Linked DNA regions of Homo sapiens: region 2 is linked to region 1. Evidence: promoter capture Hi-C in 16 types of primary human blood cells and fetal thymus (Javierre and others, 2016). All regions are on one chromosome and are shown on one strand. Each heading gives the region's core, a stretch centred on a gene start or on the middle of the fragment in contact. The rest is flanking DNA. Distances are from core to core; before and after follow the strand shown. Region 1 holds the start of HPSE (heparanase). Region 2 overlaps HELQ (helicase, POLQ like).

Region 1 (5,725 bases), core at 3,171-5,670:
ATTCAGCAAAAATTTTCTCTTAATTTCTCCTTGCTTTGAAATACAGTTTGATTGGCAAATAATTAAAAGCAAAACTTAACTTTAGAAAGTCATAACCCAATAACTCAAAACAACACATTTGTAACTATTTATTTGCCCGGAGATAACTACAAATGCCTAAAAGTTTGCCCACATTCAGAGATTTCTACATTAGAAAAGTCTTAATTTTCTAAACAGACAAGTGATAAGATTATCATTTTCTGAAAATATCCTGAAATCAGTCTGTTGTTTTACAAGTGTTTGTAATTGTTGACCAGGTAAACCTTGTGTGAATCCCTAAAAACCCAATGCCAGTACTGAAAATCAATCCACAGACCACATGGAAATGAGATCACATGATAATTATTTTTTGTATTTTTATGCATTTATTTTTTATTTATTAATATTTTTTGAGACAGAGTCTCACATTGTTGTCCAGGCTGGAGTGCAGTGGCATGATCATGGCTCACTGCAGTCTCTATCTCCTGGGCTCAAGCAAGCTTCCCACCTTAGCCTGTGAAGTAGCTGGTACTACAAGTGCATGCCACCACATCCAGCTAATTAAAAAACATTTTTTTTTTTTTTAGAGATGGGATCTTGCTATGTTGCCCTGGCTGGTTTCAAACTCCTGGGCCCAAGCGATTCTCCCTCCTCAGCCTCCCAAAGCACTGGGATTACAGGTGTGAGCCACTGCACCCAGCCCCATAATTAATAAAGCGTTCACATAAACTTTCTAGTTCATTTAAAGTTTTTTATTTCTAAATCATTTTCATCACATAATTTGTGAGTCCCTAAATCTGCGTGAGGTAGTGGAAAAACTCTGGGCTTGGAATCAGAAAGCTGTAAATCTACTTTACAAGGTTATTGCAAAGATTAAGTGGGGGTAATAATTTTTTAAAAAATAATCTCTCATCTGTTAAACACATACCTCACATTGTAGATGGAGCTAGCTGTGTTACATTATTGTCAATTAATTCTTTAAAAAAAGACTATGGGCCAGGCATGGTGGCTCATGCCTATAATCCCAGCACTTTGGGAAGCATAAGTGGGTGGATCTCTGAGCTCAGCAATTTGAGACCAGCCTGGGCAACATGGAGGAACCCCATCTCTACCAAAAATGCAAAAAATTAACAGGGCATGGTGGGGCACACCTGTGGTCCCAGCTACTTGGGAGGCTGAGGTGGGAGGATTGCTTGAGTGTGGAGGTGGAGGTTTCAGTGAGCCAAGATCACATCACTGTATTCCAACCTGGGTGACAGAGTGAGACCCTGTTTCAAAAAAAAAAAATCTTATGAAATATGTATTATTACCCCTACTATATAGATGAAGAAATTGAGGCTCTTGGAAATTGACGATCTGGCCCAAGATTGTACATCCCATCAAGCTGCAGGGCTAAGATGTATGAAAAAGGGCTCTAGCTAGGATGTATGTAGCTGTAACTTGCTATAAAAATTAAGGTGTCTTATTATAAAATATCTCTGAAATGATAGTTCCTATTAATATTCCTATATGTTCCTCCTTCCTATGTATCCATATCATACATCCTTATCAGACATTGTAAATCAAACCAAATTAGAAGCAGGAGCAAGATCTCAGCCAACAGATCATCATGTGTGCAAATTGCTTCTCTGCCCCCTCGTTTTTGTTTTCCCAGTTTCTTTTCTTTTTCTTTTTTTTCTTTTTTTTTTGACAGGGTCTTGCTCTGTCTCCCATTGTGCAGCGGCATGATCTTGGCTCACTGCAATCTCTGCCTCCCATGCAATTCTTATGCATCAGCCTCCTGAGTAGCTTGGATTATAGGTCTGCGCCACCACTCCTGGCTACACCATGTTGCCCAGGCTGGTCTTGAACTCTTGGGCTCTAGTGATCCACCCGCCTTGGCCTCCCAAAGTGCTGGGATTACAGGTGTGAGCCATCACACCCGGCCCCCCGTTTCCATATTAGTAACTCACATGTAGACCACAAGGATGCACTATTTAGAAAACTTGCAATGGTCCACTTTTCAAATCACCCAAACATGTTAAAGAAATTGGTATGACTGGGCATGGCACAGTGGCTCATGCCTGCAATCCTAGCATTTTGTGAGGCTGAGACGGGCAGATCACGAGGTCAGGAGATTGAGACCATCCTGACAGACATGGTGAAATCCCATCTCTACTAAAAATACAAAACAATTAGCCGGGGGTGATGGCAGGCCCCTGTAGTCCCAGCTACTCGGGAGGCTGAGGCAGGAGAATGGCGTGAATCCAGGAGGCAGAGCTTGCAGTGAGCCGAGATGGTGCCACTGCACTCCAGCCTGGGCGACAGAGCGAGACTCCGTCTCAAAAAAAAAAAAAAAGAAAGAAATTGGTATGACTGTTGACTCACAACAGGAGTCAGGGGCATGGGGTGGGGTGTAAGATTAATGTCATGACAAATGTGGAAAAGAAACTTCTGTTTTTCCAACTCCACGTCTGCTACCATATTATTACACTCTTCTGGTAGTGTGGTGTTTATGTGTGAATTTTTTTTCATATGTATACAGTAATTGTAGGATATGAACCTGATTCTAGTTGCAAAACTCACTATGAGCTTAGCTTTTAAGTTGCTTAAGAATAGGTAGATCTATGCAAATAATGATAATTATTATTATTATTTTAAGAGAGGGTCTCACTTTGTCACCCAGGCTGGAGTGCAGTGGTGTGATTAAGGGTCACTGCAACCTCCACCTCCCAGGCTCAAATAAACCTCCCACCTCAGCCTCCCCAGTAGCTGGAACCACAGGCACGGGCCACCACGCCTGGCTAATTTTTTGTATTTTTTGTAGAGATGGGGTTTCATCATGTTGCCCAGGCTGTTCTTGAATTCCTCGGCTCAAGCAATCCTCCCACCTTGGCCTCCCAAAATGCTGGCATCACAGGCATGATGGCATCACTGGCATCACATACCATGCCTGGCCTGATTTATGCAAATTAGATATGCATTTCAAAATAATCTATTTTTATTTGTTGCCTTATTGGTGGTACAATCTCAAGTGGAAAAATCTAAGGGTTTTGGTGTTATTTGCTTACTCAACCAATATTTATTAGACTCTTACTAAGCACCAACATGATCACATGCCTGAGCTATGGCTAGCATAGCGTGTGAGACAAACTTAATCTCTGTTTTGGTGGAGCATATAATCTAGTAGATGAAGCCAATGTTGAGCAACATCACAATACTAACAAATTGAGGATGCTACGAGAGTGTCTAACAAATTGAGGATGCTACGAGAGTGTCTAACAAATTGAGGATGCTATGAGAGTGTGTCATGGAGAGCTGCCTGGAGATTGAGAGAAAGCTTCCTTGAGGGAAGTTACATTTCAGCTGAAACACACTGCCATCTGCTCGAGGTTTTGTAACTGCATTCACATCCCGATTCTGACACTTCACATCCCGATTCTGACACTTCACCCAGTTACTGTCTCAGAGCTTGGGTCCGCATGTGTAAAACAAGGACAGTATGCACTTGGCAGGGTTGTGAGAAGGGAAGAGAACACAAGTAAAGCACCTGTATCAGGCATACAGTAGGCACTAAGCGTGCGATGCTTGCTATGATTATACATCAGTGTAAGCATCAAGGAAAAGCTGAAGAAAAGTCTGACCAACAGCGAAAGATAAATGCGCAGAGGAGAAATTTGGCAAAGGCTCCAAATTCAGGGGCAGTCCGTACTCTACACTTTGTATGGGGGCTTCAGGTCCTGAGTTCCAGACATTGGAGCAACTAACCCTTTAAGATTGCTAAATATTGTCTTAATGAGAAGTTGATAAAGAATTTTGGGTGGTTGATCTCTTTCCAGCTGCAGTTTAGCGTATGCTGAGGCCAGATTTTTTCAAGCAAAAGTAAAATACCTGAGAAACTGCCTGGCCAGAGGACAATCAGATTTTGGCTGGCTCAAGTGACAAGCAAGTGTTTATAAGCTAGATGGGAGAGGAAGGGATGAATACTCCATTGGAGGTTTTACTCGAGGGTCAGAGGGATACCCGGCGCCATCAGAATGGGATCTGGGAGTCGGAAACGCTGGGTTCCCACGAGAGCGCGCAGAACACGTGCGTCAGGAAGCCTGGTCCGGGATGCCCAGCGCTGCTCCCCGGGCGCTCCTCCCCGGGCGCTCCTCCCCAGGCCTCCCGGGCGCTTGGATCCCGGCCATCTCCGCACCCTTCAAGTGGGTGTGGGTGATTTCGTAAGTGAACGTGACCGCCACCGAGGGGAAAGCGAGCAAGGAAGTAGGAGAGAGCCGGGCAGGCGGGGCGGGGTTGGATTGGGAGCAGTGGGAGGGATGCAGAAGAGGAGTGGGAGGGATGGAGGGCGCAGTGGGAGGGGTGAGGAGGCGTAACGGGGCGGAGGAAAGGAGAAAAGGGCGCTGGGGCTCGGCGGGAGGAAGTGCTAGAGCTCTCGACTCTCCGCTGCGCGGCAGCTGGCGGGGGGAGCAGCCAGGTGAGCCCAAGATGCTGCTGCGCTCGAAGCCTGCGCTGCCGCCGCCGCTGATGCTGCTGCTCCTGGGGCCGCTGGGTCCCCTCTCCCCTGGCGCCCTGCCCCGACCTGCGCAAGCACAGGACGTCGTGGACCTGGACTTCTTCACCCAGGAGCCGCTGCACCTGGTGAGCCCCTCGTTCCTGTCCGTCACCATTGACGCCAACCTGGCCACGGACCCGCGGTTCCTCATCCTCCTGGGGTAAGCGCCAGCCTCCTGGTCCTGTCCCCTTTCCTGTCCTCCTGACACCTATGTCTGCCCCGCCAGCCGCTCTCCTTCTTTTGCGCGGAAACAACTTCACACCGGAACCTCCCCGCCTGTCTCTCCCCACCCCACTTCCCGCCTCTCATTCTCCCTCTCCCTCCCTTACTCTCAGACCCCAAACTGCTTTTTGGGGGGTATCATTTAAAAAATAGATTTAGGGGTTACAAGTGCAGTTCTGTTCCATGGGTATATTGCATTGTGGTGGCATCTGGGCTCTTAGTGTAACTGTCACCCGAATGTTGTACATTGTATCTAATAGGTAATTTCTCATCCCTCATCCCTCTCCCACCCTCCCACCTTTTGGAGTCTCCAGTGTCTACTATTCCACTAAGTCCATGTGTACACATTGTTTAGCGCCCACTCTAAATGAGCCTTTTTGTTTCATTCATTCTGTAAGTGTTGAATAGGCACCACCTAAGGTCAGGTATAAGTGGAAATTTGAAAAAGAAACTGCCCACTTGCCCCAGTACTTCCCTAGCCAAGAGGAGGGAAACCAGGCAGGTGCACCTGAAGGCCTGTGAGTGCTTGATTTGCTGTGCAGTGTAGGACAAGTAAGATTGTGCATAGCCTTCTGTATTTAAGACTGTGTTAGGAAGATTTCTCTTTCTTTTCTTTTCTTTTTCTTTTTTCTTTTCTTTTTTTTTTTTTAGGCAGATGAAAAGGGCGTCACAGAACAGGAATAAAAATCTAAATATTCAATAAATGAGACCTAGGAGACTACTGCAGTGACTTACAAAGTCCTAATAAAAAGATGTCTCTCCAAAATGGGGCTGCAAAATGTGGTGCTGCCTTATCAGCTCTAAGTTTTTTCCTTACCTGAGAAAGAAGGAACCTGATGCAGGTTCAGGGCTCCTGCCCCATGAATGCAGGCTGACTCCAAGATGGGGAGCTACAGGGACAATCCCAGGTCTTCTAGGCCTCTTATTTAGGCCCTGGGAGCCTCCAGAGAT
Region 2 (6,003 bases), core at 427-2,926, 110 kb before region 1:
CACAGGTCCTTGTACTGTCCCTTTGTTCCTCTGATATCTCAGATGGCACTCCTTGTCCACGAGGCTGCTACCTGCCCTGCTGTAATATTGGACCCAAGTCTGCAGCTGGTGAATAAATGGGCTGGTTGCCCACCTTGCTGCCTAGGCCTGAACTAGGCTCTCACTGGCTGTACTACTTGCACATTTGGGATTTTTGACATGTAACATTGGTTATAATTAAATTTATCCTTATGAGAGGATTGCTCCACAGGAAGGGATTTGATTTTTTTTCTTAGAAAACTTTTGAGTTTCAAAGTTTGGAAGGGGAAAATAATGCCTTTTTTTTTTTAATTCCACAGAATGGCAACATACTTGTTTAACATTGAATTCTGTGCAAGAAAGAAAAAATTTAATATATTCCTTGCCAACAAGTGGTGGAAAAACCCTCGTGGCTGAGATTTTAATGCTGCAAGAACTGCTTTGCTGTCGGAAAGATGTTTTAATGATTCTTCCATATGTGGCAATTGTCCAAGAAAAGGTGTGTGTGTGTGTATGTTTTAAAACAAATGTTATTTGCTAGTACTTTGACGTTAAGATCTGTAAATGTGATAACTTTGTATTGTTGAGAAGTACCTCTTTTTTTTTTTTTTTGAGATGGAGTCTTGCTCTGTCACCCAGGTTGGAGTGCAGTGGCACCATCTTGGCTCACTGCAACCTCCGCCTCCCAGGTTCAAGCGATTCTCCTGCCTCAGCCTCCTGAGTAGCTGGGATTACAGGCCCATGCCACCATACCCAGCCAATTTTTGTGTTTTTAGTAGAGGCGGGGTTTCACCATATTGGCCAGGCTGGTCTCAAACTCCTGATCTCCAGTGATCCACCCGCCTCAGCCTCCCAAAGTGCTGGTATTACAGGCATGAGCCACTGCGCCTGGTGAGAAGTACCTCTTAATGATGGAGAATTAATATTTTTAGAATGTATAAAAGCAGTATACACTACCTAAAATATCTTCAAATACTAATTACCAGTTGTTGAAAGTTTTACTTTTTCTAAACTGGTGGATTAAACATCATCTTAAATGTTCTATTACTATTTACCCTGCTTTTTCTTTTTTGAGATGTAGTCTCCCTCTGTCGCCCAGGCTGGAGTGCAGTGGCACAATCTCTGCTCACTGCAACCTCCGCCTCTTGGGTTCAAGTGATTCTCCTGCCTCAGCTTCCCAAGTAGCTAGGATTGCAGGTGTGTGCCACCATGCCTGGCTAATTTTTGTATTTTTAGTAGAGATGGGTTTTCATCATGTTGGACAGGCTGGTCTCGAACTTCTGACCTAAAGTGATCCTCCCACCTCGGCCCCCCAAAGTGCTGGGATTACAGGTGTGAGCCACTGTGCCCGGCCTTACCTTGCTTTTTCAAGCAGAAACTATTACTAAAATGAGTTATTCTGATGCTTTTTTTTTTTTTTTTGAGACAGTCTTGCTCTATCACCCAGGCTGGAGTGCAGTGGCATGATCTCAGCTCACTGCAACCCCCACCTCCCAGACTCAAGTAATTCTCATGCCCCACGACCCCACCCAGCAGCCAGAATCGCAAGCACACGCCACCACGCCCGGCTAATTTTTTTATTTTTGGTAGAGATGATGTCTCGCCATGTTGGCCAGGCTGATCTCAAACGCCTGTCCTCAAGTGATCCACCTGCCTCAGCCTCCTAAAATGCTGAGATTACAGGCATGAGCCAACACACCCCTGATGCTTTTTGGTATCAAAGGCGCCAGTTGAAATTTATTTTCACATGTATTTTAGAAGTTGCATTTATTTTGCAAAGATCGAGACATTACAGCATTTCTTACGTATGTCTTGCCTGTGACCTTGTTCCTGTTGATGGGTATTAAACACTACTTTAGCTTTTTTGAACCCCATGAGCACCTAATGGGGGGTTTTTTACTTGTGTTTTTTGGTTTTGTTTATTTATTTATTTTTGAGTCAGGGTCTTGCTCTGTCGCCCAGGCTGGAGTGCAGTGGCATGACCAAGGCTTACTGCAGCCTCAATTCTCTGGACTCAGGCAGTCCTCCCACCTCAGCTTCCCAAGTAGCTGAGACTACAGGCCTGTGCCACCACAGCCAGCGAATTTTTTATTTTTTATAGAGATGAGGTCTCACTGTGTTGCCCAGGCTGGTCTCACCTTCCTGGGCTCAAGTGATCTTCCCGCCTCAGCCTCCCAAGGTACTGGGATTACAGGCATTGGCCACAATGCCTGGCCAATTTTTCTTTATTTTAACTAATATTCTAGATTTCAGGTTTGTCAAGTTTTGGTATAGAACTCGGTTTCTTTGTTGAAGAATATGCTGGAAGCAAAGGAAGATTTCCTCCAACTAAAAGAAGGGAAAAGAAATCACTCTATATTGCCACTATTGAAAAAGGACATAGCTTGGTGAACTCCTTGATTGAAACTGGAAGAATTGACAGTCTGGGTCTGGTTGTTGTAGACGAGGTTGGTTAATACTTTTGTAATTTGTCAATATTTTTATTATACTAAATATTTATTATTCTGGTTATTGTGTGGATCTACTTAGTACCTTAGTACCTCTATAAAAATAAATTTATTTGAAAATATAGACAATATAGGTGAAGACATTCTATGCTTGATAATCTTAAATTTGGTTTTGTGTCAAGTGTTTCTTGAAGTGTGAACACGTATGTGTGTAGTATACAATTTTATTGGCTGGGCGTGGTGGCTCATGCCTGTAATCCTAGCACTTTGGGAGGCCGAGGCAGGTGAATCACTTGATGTTAGGAGTTCAAGACCAGCCTGGCCAACAGGTGAAACCCTGTCTCTACTAAAAATACAAAAATTAGCCGGGCGTGGTGGTGGGCGCCTGTAATCCCAGCCACTCGGGAGGCTGAGGCAGGAGAATCGCTGTAACCCAGGAGGTGGAGGTTGCAGTGAGCTAGGATCACGCCATTGCACTCCAGCCTGGGGGTCAAGAGCCAAACTCCGTTTAAAAAAAAAATTTTTTTAGTAGTACTTATGAATCCCAGATTTATAAGGATTTTGTACCAAAAGCTCATTAACCTAAATACCAGTGAAATAATATACATGTATTATAGTTGTTATATTCAAAATACTTAAAAGTTATAAGCAACTCTTTACAAACAAATTTCATATGAATATATGCATGTTTTATATGAGCACTATATGAAGATTTACTTCTCTGTCCTTTTTAAAAAAAATCTCGAAGTTGCACATGATTGGTGAAGGAAGCCGTGGAGCTACACTGGAAATGACCCTAGCAAAAATCCTCTACACTAGCAGTAAGTATTTTTTCAAATGAGGTCATGAATTGATTTATAATCAAGAGACTTATAAAATACTTAATTCTATCACTAGCTACAGTATGTAACCTAAAGCAAGATACTTAAGCTTTTTGCCTTTGTTTTAAAATTTCTAATGAATAGAATTTTGAAGGTAAATGAAATTGGTATTTGAAGAAGTCCTCTATTATTATCCGCCACTTACTAGCTATGTGTGCCCAGGCACATCCCTCAACCTCTATGTTTCTTTATCTGTAAAACAAGGATAATAATGGTACCAGCCTGATGGGATTGTTGTAAGGATAGTGTGAGTTAACACATGTATTGCATTCAGCAGTGCTTAGCACACTGCATTCAGTAAGGGTTTGCTGCTGCTACTGTGGCCATCATCATCATCACCATAATAATACATATAACATAAATATTATAATAATAATATTGTAAAGCGATACATTTAAATAGGTCAGTTTAAGGAGCTATTTTGCAGCATCAGGTAGTCTTTAAAGTTTATGAAAAATTTATTCTAAATGTCATAACCTACTATTGATATGCTATTGCAATATTTACCTTATATATGGAAAAATTAACTATAAAGGTCAAATCTTAAAAAGTATTTAAAAAATTTCAACAGCAATAATATTTAAGCAGGTTATAGCATTTTATAATTGTTCATTCAAAAAAATATTGATCACCTACTGTGTGCTAGGCACTATTTTAAGTGCTAGGGATACAGCAGTGAATAAAATAGTCCCTGCTTTCATCAAGCCTGTATTTTAGGGCATCCCTATTTGAATATTCTCTGAACAGCTAAGCCTAACTAAGGCTTAGTCTGAGCCAAACTCATTTCCTTCAAAGCCGTTCTTCAGCCTGAATTCTCAGCCACCACTCTCCAGCCAGCCAAGCCAGGGTCCTACATATTCTATCAGCAACCAAATCCTATCTGGTTTACCTCATAAATATATTGTTACTTCTGTCTCTCCTATCCCTCATTACCACTAAGTCTTTAGTTCAGTACCTCATCCTTTCTACCTGGATTGCCACAGAAATCACCAAGTTCTTCTGTGTACCCACTGCCCTTCATCCACCAAATCCATCTTTCTTTAGCGCAAGAAGAATGATCTTTCCCAAATGCAAATCCAATTAGTTTATTTTACTGTTTACCATTCTTTAATAGCTCCCCTTTGCTTTCTGCATAAATCCCTAATTTCTTAGCACAGCCTTTCTTGATTTGACCCCATGCCCACCTCTTCAGCTTTGTAGTCTATCCTTATGGAATGAGAAGGATACTCCCACTTATTCCTCTTTCAGTGAGTTTCTTGAATGATCATTTCAAGACATAGGAGCAATGAAGAAACATTTGCAAAGAAGGCCTATTTGGGTTTTCATTCAATAGTTAAGTCTATAGAAAGCAGCCATTTTGTATTGCCCAGGATGTCATATGGCTTCATAAGCTTCACTCCACCTTTATTTAAAACAACATCAACAAAAACTATAGTCCCAACTACTCGGGAGGTTGGGGCAAGGAGAACTGCTTGAACCCAGGAGGTGGAGGTTGCAGTGAGCCGAGATCATGCCACTGCACTCCAGCCTGGGCAACAGAGCAAGACTCTGTCTCAAAAAAATAAATAAATAAATAAAATTAAAAGTTAGCTTGATAGCAAGATCTCATAGAGGACTTTTCATGGGCCAAGAGTTCGAGACGCATTTAGCCCTCTATCCTACTACCTCTACATCTGTCTATAGCCATACCTGTGGAACATATCATAGCTCTTCGTAAAGGGGATCCAGATAGACAGTTATAAGCAGATTTATACTCATTTATTATTGTTTAGAAGCCTTAATATCCTAGTTCTTGCCAAGTTTGAAACTCTGTAAACTTCTAAGTAGTAACTTTCAGGATACCTGAAAAATTTCATTCTTCAAATGCCAGATTAATACTCTGGTAATATATTTGTAGTTTTCTTTTTTTAAGAGGTCAGGTCTCACTGTTGCCCAAGCTGCAGTGCAGTGACACAATCATGGCTCACTGCAGCCTTGACTTCCTGGGCTCAAGCGATCCTCCCACCTCAGCCTCCTAAGTAGCTGGGACTACAGGCGTGCACTACCATGCCCAGGTAATTTTTAATTTTTTTGTAGAGATGAGGTCTTACTATGTTGCCCAGGCTAGTGTTGAAGTCCTGCCCTCAAGCGATCTTCCCACCTCAGCCTCCGAAAGTGTTGAGATTACAGATGTGAGCCAGGCACCCAGCTATTTGTATTTTTCTTACTTACCTCTCCCACCCCTTTCCCAAATCACTCAGGAAGAATTCAGAGCACAAAAGACTTGCTAAAATTACTTTATGATATATTAAATAACATATTTTCCTTAACACTTTGGCTTTTGTTTGTTTGTGTTTTAGAAACGACTCAAATTATTGGTATGAGTGCAACATTAAACAATGTTGAAGACCTACAAAAGTTTCTTCAAGCAGAATATTATACCAGTCAATTTAGACCAGTATGTACCTAAGGTTTGCACTGTATTGATTTGTTTCGTATTCATCTAACTTAGAAATGAAAGTAGTAAACATAGGATTTAAAGAATTCTGTAGAGTAGTGAAGGGGCATATTTTACTCACCATGACTATATGCTAATAAGAGGTTGTGTATAGAGAATTTAAGAGTTTGTGTATAGGTCAGGGATCTTGGGTTGGGTCACTAATGTATCTATAGCCTGG

Evidence for each region. The method cuts DNA at HindIII sites, captures the fragments that hold promoters and counts their contacts. A CHiCAGO score of 5 or more calls a contact.
Region 2: a contact is called between a fragment that was not itself captured here and the fragment with the promoter of HPSE in region 1, in 1 of 17 cell types (megakaryocytes). The highest score is 5.9, in megakaryocytes.

The regions. Positions count from the first base shown.
Region 1 is chr4:83,333,543-83,339,267 of GRCh38, reverse strand. It overlaps HPSE (heparanase), which reads left to right and starts at 4,420. Exons shown (of 12, transcript NM_001098540.3): 1 at 4,420-4,712. The coding sequence starts at 4,486. The HindIII fragment of the contact is 2,644 bases long and covers 3,340-5,725 here.
Region 2 is chr4:83,443,297-83,449,299 of GRCh38, reverse strand. It overlaps HELQ (helicase, POLQ like), which reads left to right. Exons shown (of 18, transcript NM_133636.5): 3 at 339-517; 4 at 2,265-2,465; 5 at 3,214-3,286; 6 at 5,686-5,783. Among named protein-coding and RNA genes, the nearest start is that of HELQ, 9.5 kb to the left of the region's middle. The HindIII fragment of the contact is 3,442 bases long and covers 1-3,397 here.